Linked DNA regions of Homo sapiens: regions 2 and 3 are each linked to region 1. Evidence: promoter capture Hi-C in 16 types of primary human blood cells and fetal thymus (Javierre and others, 2016). All regions are on one chromosome and are shown on one strand. The core of a region is centred on a gene start or on the middle of the fragment in contact, and the rest is flanking DNA. Distances in the headings are between cores, read along the strand shown.

Region 1 (4,437 bases), core at 1,152-3,651:
AAAAATAAATAAAATAACAGAACAAATAAAACTAGTGTTTTCACACAGGTCTCCCCCGAAAACACTTTATATTCCATTAATAGAATTAGATCTAATTCCAGGGATCATTAAGTCAGAATCAGAAATTCTTTGTTAACCTCCCCTTTTACAGTGGATGATTAAAATTAGAATACACCCCAGCAGAAAGTCCGACTTCTTTTAAAAGAAGAACAGCTGCACAAGGGGGAGGAGGGGGGATGGAGGCAAAGAAGTCTTCCACCCAGAGAGCTGAAACTCCGTTGGGCTCTCAGAAATGATTTGTGCATTTGTGTTTTTGTTTAACACGATCTTTCTTGGACTCATTTTCAGCCCACTCCCTGCGTGTGCGGAGCCGACTCTGAAGTCACTGAGCCACCCGGCAGCCGGGTCTTGTGGATTTCCAACGCGGGGCCCGCCGGGGAGGGAAAAGTGCCTCCGTCTCTCCCAACCACCAAGCCGCAGGGACGCCCGCGAGGGTCCGCGGCTGGAGGCTAGGAGGAAACCGAAGTGTCTTTACTCCTCTTGGCTGCGATGAGACCCGCGCGCCTGGAATGGGCTTTCGGGGCCGGGGGAGGGAATGTGGGAGGAAATCAGCGCGCAGAATGTTAGTTTAAAGCTGAACCGGACGGTGTAAAAACACCGAACTCTTGGTGGGGATGGAAAAGGAAGAATGCGGGAAAGGCAAGGAGAGATCCCAGGTGACTTTGAATCGCAGAGAGGGCTTAAAGGAAAATCAAATGTCAGCGATGGCTCGGGTTCTCCTCCGCTCCCCACCACAGCCCGCCCTATCATCCAAGTGCAGAAAAAAACGGATGAGAATTAAGCTAAAAGCCAGAGAGAGAGAGAGAGAGGGACAGAGGAATTCTTTTTGTCCTGTCTTTAATAGTAGTAGTAGTATCAGTATTAGTATTCGCATTATTAATGTGCCTGTTCCCAACCCTTCATCCCCTCCCCCCAGTTTTGTCTTGAAGTTTCCTGCGGAGGCAGCCCGATCTGTCTGCTACCCACCCACCAGCATCCAAGAGTTATGCAGATGTTTATGGCTGAAAAAAAAAAATCCCAGTTATGCATCCTTGTATTTTTAAATACTGACTGTAAGTGATTCAAGTATAATCCTTTGTAAAATGCTTTTCTCTTTGACACATTGAAGGGAGTTGAGAGAGGAAAACCCGGCGTGGATTCCCCCTCCCTGGCCCCTCTCTCACCCACCACCTTCGCCCCAATTCTGCCAGCGTTGGGGCCCCTGGAAATCCCTGGGAACCTGCACCCAGGCAGGGAAGGCGTCCGTGCTGGCCCAGGCTCGACCCAACATCAGTTGGAGTTGGGTTTTAGTTCTCGGCGCTGGAAACTGTTTGGGAAGAAAGGCGCTCTCTCTAAGGTTCACTCTCTCACCTTTGCTCAAGGGAGCCAGGTCATGAGAATTCAGAATTTTAGACGCTTAGATTTGGCTGCAGCCGAATTTGGGTTCCTTCCACCCTGGAGAGGTCAGGGATCCCTGAGGGTTCTGCTCCCTAGCTGCGATTGGAAGGTGAACAGCCTCAGGGTGAAGGCCTAACAGATACGAATTTGTGGGGGAAAGAGGGAAGAGAGTCCAGGGAGAAAGAGGAGGCCCCCAGACTCGTCCCCAGTCGCCCCTCCTCGCTGCTGATACTCGCCTGTCCCTTCCCACCCAGTAAATGCTCTAGGGAAGGCCGCGCGCCTATGGCAGAGCTTTGTCTGTAAGGAGGCTTTTTCCCATTCCAGAGTTTAAAACGGAGAGGAGAGCGGTTGGGGGACGCTACAAACAAGAGAGACACAGTCGGGCTCAGGGTGAAGATAGACAGCGCAATGCCTTGGGCCGCAAGAGAAAAGCGAACTCCCAGACGGCAGATGTTTGCTTGGGGCGGTCACCCTGGCCCCCCGACGCCCGTCCGGCCTAGAGAGGACGGCAATTGAGCGCCAGGGAGGTCAAGGCGGTGTCCTGGGAGCCCAATATCGGCTTTGAAAAGTGCCGAGTGAGTCTGAACGTGAGCCTCGAGGCCTCGCCTCCAGGGAGCGAGGTCCTCGGGTTGGTGGAAGGGGCGCACGCCACCCAGATGGCATTCACAGGCCTGGCATCCCAATAAGCTAGAACTTCGGCCAACACTAAAGGGTCAAAGGAGGAGCTGCAGGAAGAGGATAGCGGACTTAGAAAATTGGTAACTTAAAAAAAGAAAGAAAGAAAAGGAAAATTGGCTCTGGTGCGTGCCCGCTGCCCCCACCCCCGCCTGCCCCTCTGGAATCCAGTCCGGGCTTTGCGCCGCGCCCACAGGCCGACGCAGCCCGGCCTCTGGCGAGAGCCAATCAGAGGGCGCCTCTCAGCACGTGGAGGAGAGAGACTCCAGAGCTCAGCGCCCGCTGCTCACTACACTTGTTACCGCTTGTCCTGAGCGCGGAGAGGGCGAGCTCGGGCCGCGGGCAGGGCGGGAGCCGGCAGCCGGCAACCAAGGGAGGCAGAAAGGCACAAAGATCGCAATAATATCCGTTATAACCCGCTATCTAACCCCACCCCCAACACACACCCATCCATCCCACCCTCCGGGAGAGGCAGCCGGCGATCCGCTCTCTGCGCCCTGGGAAAAAGCCCCAGCCATGAGCAATCAGTACCAGGAGGAGGGCTGCTCCGAGAGGCCCGAGTGCAAAAGTAAATCTCCAACTTTGCTCTCCTCCTACTGCATCGACAGCATCCTGGGCCGGAGGAGCCCGTGCAAAATGCGGTTGCTGGGAGCCGCGCAGAGCTTGCCTGCTCCGCTGACCAGCCGCGCCGACCCGGAAAAGGCCGTGCAAGGTAAGGATGCTCCCGTCAGGCACTTACTAAGGGCATTGGGCCCTGATTTGGATGTTTGGTGTTCGGGGGCCAGTGGCCTGGAATTGTCAATTTGGAGAGGAAGGAAGGAGAGGGCATAACTCTGAGGCCTGCTGCCTCAAAGAGCGTTAAACATCTAGCCAGGGCTGTCTCTCCCTCCCTCCCTCCCTGCTTCCAGAAAAAGGCCCGTTTTCGCTTAGGGAGCCTTTAGCTTTTCGGTGTTGATCGTTAGGTTGTTTAAATGCCCCTTTTGGTGGCCTTGGGTGTGCTCTGAAGAGCGGCGACAGGTCAGAAACAGTAGATGGCCGGTGGACCCTTGTAGCACCAACTTGATGAAGACAAGAAGCCCAAAAGCTGGTGAATCGGGGTCTCCAGGCTGAGTGAGCCTTGGCCTTTCCTCTTTGGAAGATTTCTGTATATGCAATGTTTTGGTTTTATTTTTTTAATTGCAGATTACTTGTGACCTTTTAAACCCAAGCTTTGCAGAAAACATCTTCCTGGGATTCTCCAAATGCTCCTTAATGTATTTAAAATGTATGAAATGTGTGACTTCTGGATGCTAATTTTTTCTCTGCTATTTTATTTTTTAAAATAGACGAGCTGTTTAAAATATTTTATTTTTTTCTGAAATTAAAAATTCCAGAACAAATGTCCTTTTACCCCGAACCTGTTATCCTCAAGTTTCGCCTCGAGCTTGCTGCAGAGGTGTCGCAGGGAAAGGAAAGAACTGTTGGTTTCTTTTAAAATCCAAAAACCAGCGGTCCGGCCATAGCGCAATTTGGATGGCAGGAGCAGACGGTTGAGAAGGGGGCATTTAAATAAAACTGACTTTTTTCTTTTCTTTTTTTAGCCTGCAGTGGCACCTATGCCAGGCGCTTCCTCAAAAGGAAGGAGCGGCCTGCGCCTGCTGCACTCCCACTCCCTCTCTGCCCCAGACCTTTCCCAGAACATTTTTGCCAGGATGATTTTTCTTTGCCTTTTTGTGCAAGAAGCCCCCCCACCCTCTCCCGCTGTGGGCTGTTGGGGCGCGGCCTGCACTTGGGGCCACAGGGCCGCTTTCCCCCACCCCGCCCCGCAGCGGTCGCCTTCAGGGCTGCACCCCTCTTGCCAACCCTTGCCCTCATGGTGGAGCAGCGGGCAGAGGTCATGCGCAAAGTTTTCAGGATAGTGGTGATTTTCTTTTAAAGTTGTAGAATGTTTTCGGATTTTCCTCTGCCCCGACGTGGGAAGGGAAATAAAAATGAGAGAGTAGGAAAGGGGAAAGAGAAAGGAATAAAGAAGAAAGAAGGAGAGAGGGGAGAGAAAGCCTGCAAAAAGAGAAAGAAAGGGGGAGAGAAGGAGAAAGAGAGGTGAGGAAAAGAAGGGAGGGGGAGAAAGAAAAAGAAAAAAGGTAAGGAGAGAAAAGGAAGGGAGAGAGGGGCAAGAGGAATAGATAAGGGAAGGAAGATAGGAAATAAAAGGGGGAGAGTGAGAGAGGGAACGGAAAGAAGGGAGAGGAAAGGGGAAAAAAGAAGGAACCCAGAGAAAGGGAGAAGGAGAGAAAGAAAGAAAAAGAAAAAGCAAGAAAAGTGGAGAAAGAGGCCAAGGCGTCGAAG
Region 2 (4,437 bases), core at 1,375-3,874, 650 kb after region 1:
TCCAGTAGCCTGGGCCTTCAACTCCTTGACCTCCTCTCCTGCAAAGATCCTGTTAAGACATCAACCACAGGCAACCACACTACCATGGTTTTACAGTAGAACTCATCATTATCAATAACCATAAGAGCCTCCATAATCTCAACTTCAAACCTCCCACTCTCCAAACACTGCCAAACAATCATTTCAAAATAACTGGCTTCTCAGGGAGTATGAAAAAGATGCATAGCTCCAAATATCACTTGTTAAAAATCACCCCGTTCCCCTTCCCCTTCTTACTTCCAGTGGAAGTTTAACATTTCTGTAGAGGAGCCGCTTAGAGCCCAAGAGTAATCCTGCTTAGAAGAAGGCAGGGCATTAGGGGATTTGTTTTGAAGCTCTATTTGCATAACACTTTACACAGTTCTTAGAAGCATCACTTTTCCATATCAAAGAATGCGCTCCATAGCGAAGACAGGCGTAGAGAGCTAAAGTTTCTCAAGCTGCCTCCCGCTTCACACTGACTTTCTCAAGTCTTACAATAAACTCGTTAGAGTTTATCAGACTCACCCAAAACAGTCCTTCCAAAACCTGTCTCACCAGCCATAGGCCTCATCGCTTTTCCTTCTGCTCTTTCCCATTGGAAATTGGGAGGGCAAAGCCAGAGATCTTAAATAGGCAAGGATGGGAGAAGGCTGGGAAGCACTGTGTGTGTGTGTGCTCGTGCGTGTGTTCGCGCGTGCGTGTGTGCGTGCTTGTGTGCACGTGCGTGTGTGTGCTTGTGTATGTGCGTGCGTGTGTGTGTGTGCGCGCGCGCGCGCGTGTGTGTGTGGCGCTCACGCATGATAGGACTTTTCCTGTTGTCCCAGAGTTGCCAAAGGTGGAAACAAAAAGCATCAGGTGCTCCCACATCCTAACGAGGGGCTGCAACCAGCCAGCAGACACGTTCTCAGAGAGTACTAAGAGATGGCAGAACTGGCCCTATTTGGACTCTGACCGTTCCCTTCAACCACTCTTTTCCAGCCTCTGTAGCTACGGGAGGATGGGAAGGGGAGGGAGAGAAGTTGAGTGTTCCTGGGGTGGAGGGGGGAGCTTTTCTTTTCTTGGGACAGAGTAGGAAGGGGTGAGGAAAGGAGTGCTGGGACTCCCCTGCTCTCCCAAGCCAAGAGTTGTATGTAGAAGGGAGACCTCTAAGAGGGTCGCTCCTGGAGAGTCGGAGGTCTGCATGAAGGCAAAGTTGGCATCCAGTTTTACTGCCTGGGCTCGTGTGGAGCTGCACAGACCCGCAGGCCCACACTGGACCACCCTGGAGCCTTGGAAACTGTGGGCGAGCTTGACGCATATTCTTTGAGGGATGTGTTGTATGTGAACCTGGAGTCTGGTGCCCCCTTGTGGTCTAGAGACATCTGAACGTGAGCGGTTCAAAAGGTACTGAGGGGCGGTGTGCCCGGAAAGCAAATGGGAGCATCACTTCCACCTTGATCCCGTGAGCCCACAGCTTCTGAATTTGGAAAGGCTCCACAGGAAGGAGCACAGCAGGGCTTACTAAGAGAGCCGCTCTTCAAGAGGCCCCAGAGGAGTCAGAATCCAAGTGAAGTTCAACACCGTCGCCGCAGAAAAAAGAACCAGCCCCGTGCTCAGAGACCCTTCACCTCACTCAGCAAATCAGAGCATCACACCTGCAAAAGGACCATTTTCGCAGGAAGATTTCTCTCTCCCTTCTCTCGTCCTCCCCCACCCACCAGACCAGAGAATACGATATTGAAATTGTAATTGGGACTGTCAGCTTTACCAAACAAGAGAGCCCAGCAAGTCATGAGGTCCACCCAAGGTGTCATTAAAGGATGGGAAAAGGGACTTGGTGCTGCATGGTTGAAAGCAGTGGTTGGGAAAAATAAAATGGTTTCACCTGTATAGTCCACCACTGAGTTGAGACTCATCAATGCATCAGTTACATGTACCCAGGCACAAGGCATAGACTTCAGAAGCAGACAGAAAGGGAGCTGAAAAATTGTGCCACTTAATAGCTTTATTGCCTCAGGCAAGGACTATCTGAGCCTGTTTCTTCACTTGCAAGTAAGGATAATCATACCTAATGGACATTATGACTAGGTTATTAAAAGGATTAGAGGCAGCATATATAAATGAATAGAAGCTACTATTTATTGATGGATGTGTTGACACATGGAGGGGGCTGTTTCCAGTTTCCCAAGACAAAAGACAAATAAAAAGAACTAGTAAAGTAGAAATAAAAAATAAGAAGTGAGGAATGCTGAAGTGCCAACCATAAATGTAAACGCAGCGATTTGAGCTACAAATTTGGTTTTGAGTTTCCCGGCAGCTGAGGCACAAAGAGAAACCTCAGAACTTGCACAACTACAGTTATCAGAAAGGAGGAAGGATGCCTTCTCAGGAGAGACAAAGCTTTTCCTGGCTCCAAATTTCAAAAGCAACATCTCAGAAGTTTTTCTGCATTGGCTTGTAAATTACCTGAAACCTTGACTAATCTTTACCAAGGGGTTTCTAAAGCTTTAGAACTAGTGATGTAGTAATTGGGACTGGGACAAATTATTGAAGGTGAATGACCTAGATCTCTACACTCTGGATCACAGTGGTATTCTGCAGCAATTACTCTCCTATAATTCTTTAAATTCTCTCAGTTGAACTTTCCCTGCTACATTCATTGTGAGATCACCCAAAGGACAATTAGACTCACCCCTTCTACCTCAAAGAAATGTTTTTATTTCCAACTCATGCAGAAGCTTCAGACTGAGGACAGATTTAAATAAAAGTATAGATATATTTTTAGATGAAATAGCTACATTCAAAAGGCTTTTCTCTTTCCCAGATGTAATTCTGGCCTACAAAAGCCACACTGCTCTCCCTTCAAAGGCCACAGTCACCTTTCAGGGGTATTAGCACATGAAGTAAACAGCCTTTGCAAAACAGTGCTACAGGTGAGCTTTCCCACCCCAACTGCAGAGGCACCTCCACTAATCTGCAAATGCTAACGTGGGTTTCCAGGGAAGTTGCCAAAATAAGCTCCTGTCCTCCCTCACCTTTACTTTAATCCCCAAATAGGTTTTGCTTTTACCATATGGTAATTATTTCCAAATCATAAGTGCAAACACTCACTCTGATTGGAAAATTAGCAGATTTCAAACTCAGGTAATTTGTCCCTAATGAGGAACTTGTTGAACTGAATTTAACAATTAACTCGCACACCCTTTGCTGCCTGCTATGGGAGTAAAGCAGGGAAGACAGAAGGGCAAGTCGAGGGCTGGGGCCTGGACTTCGAGTACAAGATAAAGGTTGGGATGGGGGGAAGGTGTGTTAATGGGGCTGTAGGAATATCAGGAACTTGACTATTCAAATGGATATAATATCTATGAATTCATATATAAATGAATTTCAAACATATGCCGAAGTAGAATAGTATAATGAGTCTCCATATACCCATCAACCAGCAGCTCCCACAATTATCAACTCATGGCTGATCAGGTTTCACTTCTGCAGGAGGAGCTAGAGACCCAGAAGATGCACAGGAAGGAGGTGCAAAAGGAAGAATAAAAGAGTGGTGCCGGCCAGGCACGGTGGCTCACGCCTGTAATCCCAGCACTTTGGGAGGCCTAGGTGGGTGGATCACCTGAGGTCAGGAGTTCGAGACCAGCCTGGCCAACATGGTGAAACCCCCATCTCTACTAAAAATACAAAAATTAACTGGGCGTGGTGGCGGGCACCTGTAATCCCAGCTACTTGGGAGACTGAGGCAGGAGAATCACTTGAACCCGGGAGGCAGAGGTTGCAGTGAGCCGAGATCACGCCACTGCTCTCCTGGGCAACAGAGGAAGATTCCACCTCAAAAAAAAAAGAAAAAAAAGTGCAGTGCCTCTCCTCTCTCCCACTCCCTTAGGTTCCAAGCACTTTAGGGTAGATACGGGTTGTTGAGTTGACTGCTGGGAAAATGAGTGTCCTCCTGGTAGGTCTTTTGCATATGGCTGTACAGAGCCTGGCAAAAGACTGACCTTTTCCACCCTCCTCGCTCCATGGCTGGGGCGACTTGATCCTGCAGGTCCTGGCCCAGATGACCATAGGCCATGAGGATCTCAAGAAGCTCCAGCCCACTACATGCAATCAGCATCATAAATCTCACTCCACCTGTGTGCCCCAAACCCAGGTCATGCCTGATGCTCTGTCCCCATAATCTGCTTTGCTCCTGTCCCTCTAGAACTGCGCTGACCCACACAATAGCCACTAGCCATACATGGCTATTAAGCACTTGAAATGTGACAAGCAAGACTGAGGAACTAATTTTAAATTTCATGTACTTTTAATTAATTTAAATTTTAAAACTTGTACTTGATTCAATTATGGGAAAACTTCCAAGTATGTTTGGAAAGTGAATCTACATTTTCAACTATAAGGTTTACAAAATCTAAATACAGATCAAATATTTGATGA
Region 3 (4,437 bases), core at 1,159-3,658, 620 kb after region 1:
TTAAATCATCAGGAATTTTGCAAGCCAGTTGTTAAACACAGTCATTATTAAAAATTAAATTACATAAACATACACTAGACCTCACCCTGCAGCTCAACTCTGCCCTCAGTTCCCAGGGCCCATCCTGCAAGATGTCTATAGTAGCAGGTCACCTGACTGTGGCTGTGTCCCAGTTATGATTCCTGAACTTTTCCTTTACGCCCTGGCACTGCCTGGTCATAGCTCCTCCCCCAAACCCAAGCCCAGCTCCTGTTATACGGAGTCTTCTTTGGTCCTGTTGTCTTTCTGTTCAGGGAATCTCATTTGGGCTGTAACTCAGAGCTCCTTGTAGGCTTGACTCTTGCTTTACTCTTGAAAATCACTCTCCCAGATTCTAATATCTTTTGCCAAACCCTAGCCAAGTGACCAGCACTTTCAGCCTCTCAAAAGAGCTGTATGTTGACTGCCTGCCCTGACCCAAACACTAATCATAACTCCTAACCCTAATCCCTATCCTCTAGCCCTAGACCAAACTTGAAATCCTAATGCTAACCCTAATCTAAACTCCTAAAAATCACCCTAAATCCTAGCCCTAATGGTTGCTCAAACCCTTAACCCTAACCCAAACACCAAACTCCACCACAACACTAACCCCACATTCTATCACATAACTCCAATCCCTACTACCTAACCCTAACCCCCCAAACCCAACCCTAACATGTAACTCCAATGCCTAACCTTAATCCCCAACCCTAACCCTAACTCCTAACCCTAACCTCACCCCTAACCCCCAATCTCTTTCTCCAGGATCCTCTGCCCGCCTTCCCACTGCTACAACCACTTCTCCATGCTCCCTTACTGGGTCAGCTGCTTTTCTAGAGAAGGACTCTATTTCCCCAAGCCCTTTAGGCCAGTCTAGGCCAACCAGCTGGAAACTCTTTGGTCAACACTTGGAGGCTTCTCTGAGTGCCTGAACCATATTTGGGTCTAACTTTCCAATCCCAGCATCTCCCCGCCAGCCCAATCCTGCTCTCAAAAATCATTTCTCTCCCAGCCCAATCCCGAGACAGATGACAAGCATCAGTTACATGGGAAATTAATTTAGGCGAAAAAACTCTTCCTTCCGAATGTAAATTAGGCAGCTTGGACTCTGGAGCCAGCCTGCTCAGCCACTTAACTCCTTGCGTAACCTTGGGCAAGTTACCTTTCCTCCATATGTTCCTCTATAAAATGGGTGTAATAATAGCACCTCTCTCATAGGGTGGTTGTGAGGACTAAAATGAGTTGATATATAAAAGCACTTAGAACAGTACCTGGCACCATAGTAACCACTAAGGAAATGTTTGCTTTTGTAACATTATTATGACTATTACCCAAAAAAAGTGTACATTTTCCTTTTCAGACTCAACTTGCTTTTATGAAGAGGGCAAAAAAAAAAAAAAAACAACAACAAACTAAACATGCTTATTTTAGAAATACAACAAAGAACAGAAAAGTATTAAAAAGAAGGAAAAAAAATAACCCACATCCAGCCAGCTACTTAGATTTCAAGGACAAAAGATAATTTGACTTTGCGAACGTCTGCATATTAGTAGATTTTGAGTTGCTGCAGCCAGACCCAGCCAAGCAGAGCTGTACTTTTATTTTATTTTGCTCTTGGCACTCAACTATAATTCCAGGCATAACATGGGGTCTCTGTATGTTTGTCTTTCCCATTAGGTTGGAAGCTCCCAGAGGAGAGAAACAGTGTCGTTTTAATCCCTGCATTGCCAGTAATGCCCAGCACAGAGCCAGGCCAGGAAAGATGCTCTCTAAATGACTATGTGCCTTGTTCCCCACAGTTGTAACTAGTTTGGAATTCAGTTTCACAGCTCTTTGCTCAGAAATACAGGTTTCTAGCAGAACTATCCTTGAAATAAAATGTAAGAAAAGAATTTCCCAGTGGAATTTGTTGGGGTTTTGTATTACCTCTTCTCACAAATCTTTCAAAAGACTGCTTTCCTCCATTGGGTAATTTCAAACATTTTTACCACTGGGTAACATAGCTCATTAAAGCAGTAATTTTCCACTTGCAGGTACAAAAATGAAAAGAAGACTGGCCAAAACCATTCGCCAAAGAAACATGGCATCTGTTCAGAGCTTATTATTTTTACTAGCTGCCTGCCAAAGACCACAAACCAACGGAGGGCTCTTACTCAACACAGACAACTGTATTCTAATCGACATTGTTCCCTCTCTTAAGTAAGCTTACCAAGTGATAGCAAGTGCCACTCAAGCAGTAAAATGAGAAATGGAAACATGAGGCTTAATGTAGCATGAACATGGGGTTTTTTTAATTGCTTTTTTAAGAAAAATTTGGAGGGAGCAAAAGGATTGAACAGACATGTCAATTTCAGTGAGTAATCCCGCTTTCCATCCTAGCCCACTCTGCCCTCACCTTTCGCTTTGATCTTCTCTCCAGTTGGCCTGATATTCATGGCAGAAAAAGCTGGTCTAACCACACTTTCCTCTTTCCATAAAGGCATTTTATGATGTTTCCATGCAAACCCAATATTCTTACTGACAGTGAAGTAGGGGACAGAGGCAATAAAAAAAGTGGATGTGAAAGCTTACAATACAAAAGAAGAAAGGCTCTTCTCCCAAGTTATGAACAGCTTCTAAATCACATAGAGCATCAGCATCGGCAGAAAATAGATGTGTATGAAAGATATGCTTATGTGTTACATAAATCTATGTGTCTGCCTGCAAAAACTGATAATTAAGAAGCAGAAGAAAGTAATCAAGACTTGACTCTGTATCCCAAAACTCAGGAAAGTGCCAGGGTTGTTTTGTCATTGGTGTTTTTCCTCCCCAGTAATAGATTCTCTTCCCTCTTCCACAAGCATTTTGTAAGGCTATGTTTAGAATAGACGTCAGAGCTGGGAAACCAACCTGCAAAGCAAGACTTTCCCAAGGGTGTCATCTTGTGGTGCTTCTGTGTATTACAACATTTCTTCGACCTGATGCAGACCACAGCTGGAAACAAGAGGCAAATAACTGTGAATCAGTCCTTTGATTTACAAAGTTGAATCAGTCCTTCGATTTACAAAGTTGAACCTTTGCGACTTGGCATTAGATAGTGTGTGGTGGGTGTCAAACACACAGGTGCTGAGAGATGGTTTAAAATTTTTAAGTGCTGCCATAATGTGGAAGTCATACATCAGGAGACAGAATGTTTGGTCGGCCTGAACATTCAGCTAGTTTCATAAAATAGCACACTCAGCACCCCCCTTTTTTTGTATCAAGCCATAAAAATGTTTACAGGCCGGGCACAGTGGCTCACACTTGTAATCCCAGCATTTCGGGAGGCCGAGGTGGGCAGATCACCTGCAGTCAGGAATTCGAGACCAGCCTGACCAACATGGAGAAACCCCCGTCCCTACTAAAAATACAAAATTAGCCGGGCGTGGTGGCGCATGCCTGTAATCCCAGCTACTCGGGAGGCTGAGGCAGGAGAATTGCTTGAACCTGGGAGGCAGAGGTTGCGGTGAGCCGAGATCGCGCCATTGCACTCCTGCCTGGGCAACAAGAGTGAAACTCTGTCTCAAAAAAAAAAAAAAAAAAAAAAAGGTTTACAAAGGGTCACTGAGGAAAGATTCATGAAAATACAACTTCTATAGAAAGGACTTAGAATCGCTGCATTTTAGAGATAGAAGAATCCCTTTAGAGGTGGGCTTAAGCTGGGGACCATAGTCCTGCTTTAGGAAAAATGAACTCCTTGAAATTGAACATAAAGAGTAGTGTTGGCACATACCGGCATTTTAATACATAGAGAATCTATCATTTTTATCAGATTATCAAAAGAGTCCGTGGCCTAAAGAAGATTAAGAACTAATGCTTGGGGCCAGGCGTGGTGGCTCATGCCCATAATCCCAGCACTTTGGAAGGCCAAGGTGGGCAGATCACTTAAGGCCAGGAGTTCGAGACCAGCCTGGGCAACATGGTCAGGGGGGAAACCCCCTGACCATGGGGAAACCCCATCTCTACTAAAAATACAAAAATTAGCCGGGCATGGTGGTAGGCACCTGTAATCCCAGCTACTCGGGCAGCTGAGGCAGAATTACTTGAACCCGGGAGGCAGAGGTTGCAGTGAGCCAAGATCGTGCCACTGCACTCCAGCCTGGGCGACAGAGTGAGACTCTGTCTCAAAAAAAAAGAAAGAAAGAATGCTTGAGATCCTAGCCTCATATCCTCTACAAAAATTCTGTCTACAACAGCCTTGACAGATTCAGTTACTCTCAGGTTAAACTTTACTGTTGTAGAGACACCACTACCTTGAGGCAGTTGTTTAATGCTAATTGCTTCTAAGCATTCAGAAGTTTCATACTGCGTTGGACTGTCAATGGAATGTCAACCCACTGGGCTTAGTTCTACTCTCTACCCTACCACAGCCTGGTCCAGACCTTTTCCAAATGTCAT

Evidence for each region. Contacts are between HindIII fragments. The CHiCAGO score rates a contact against its expected background, and 5 or more counts as called.
Region 2: a fragment that was not itself captured here is called in contact with the fragment with the promoter of ARX in region 1 in 1 of 17 cell types (fetal thymus); the score reaches 6.9 in fetal thymus.
Region 3: a fragment that was not itself captured here is called in contact with the fragment with the promoter of ARX in region 1 in 1 of 17 cell types (monocytes); the score reaches 5.5 in monocytes.

The regions. Positions count from the first base shown.
Region 1 is chrX:25,013,929-25,018,365 of GRCh38, reverse strand. It overlaps ARX (aristaless related homeobox), which reads left to right and starts at 2,401. Exons shown (of 5, transcript NM_139058.3): 1 at 2,401-2,824. The coding sequence starts at 2,629. The HindIII fragment of the contact is 5,488 bases long and covers 1-3,322 here.
Region 2 is chrX:24,368,503-24,372,939 of GRCh38, reverse strand. No RefSeq gene overlaps it. Among named protein-coding and RNA genes, the nearest start is that of SUPT20HL1, 10 kb to the right of the region's middle. RefSeq lists an enhancer at 659-1,434. The HindIII fragment of the contact is 233 bases long and covers 2,508-2,740 here.
Region 3 is chrX:24,394,455-24,398,891 of GRCh38, reverse strand. No RefSeq gene overlaps it. Among named protein-coding and RNA genes, the nearest start is that of SUPT20HL1, 36 kb to the right of the region's middle. The HindIII fragment of the contact is 362 bases long and covers 2,228-2,589 here.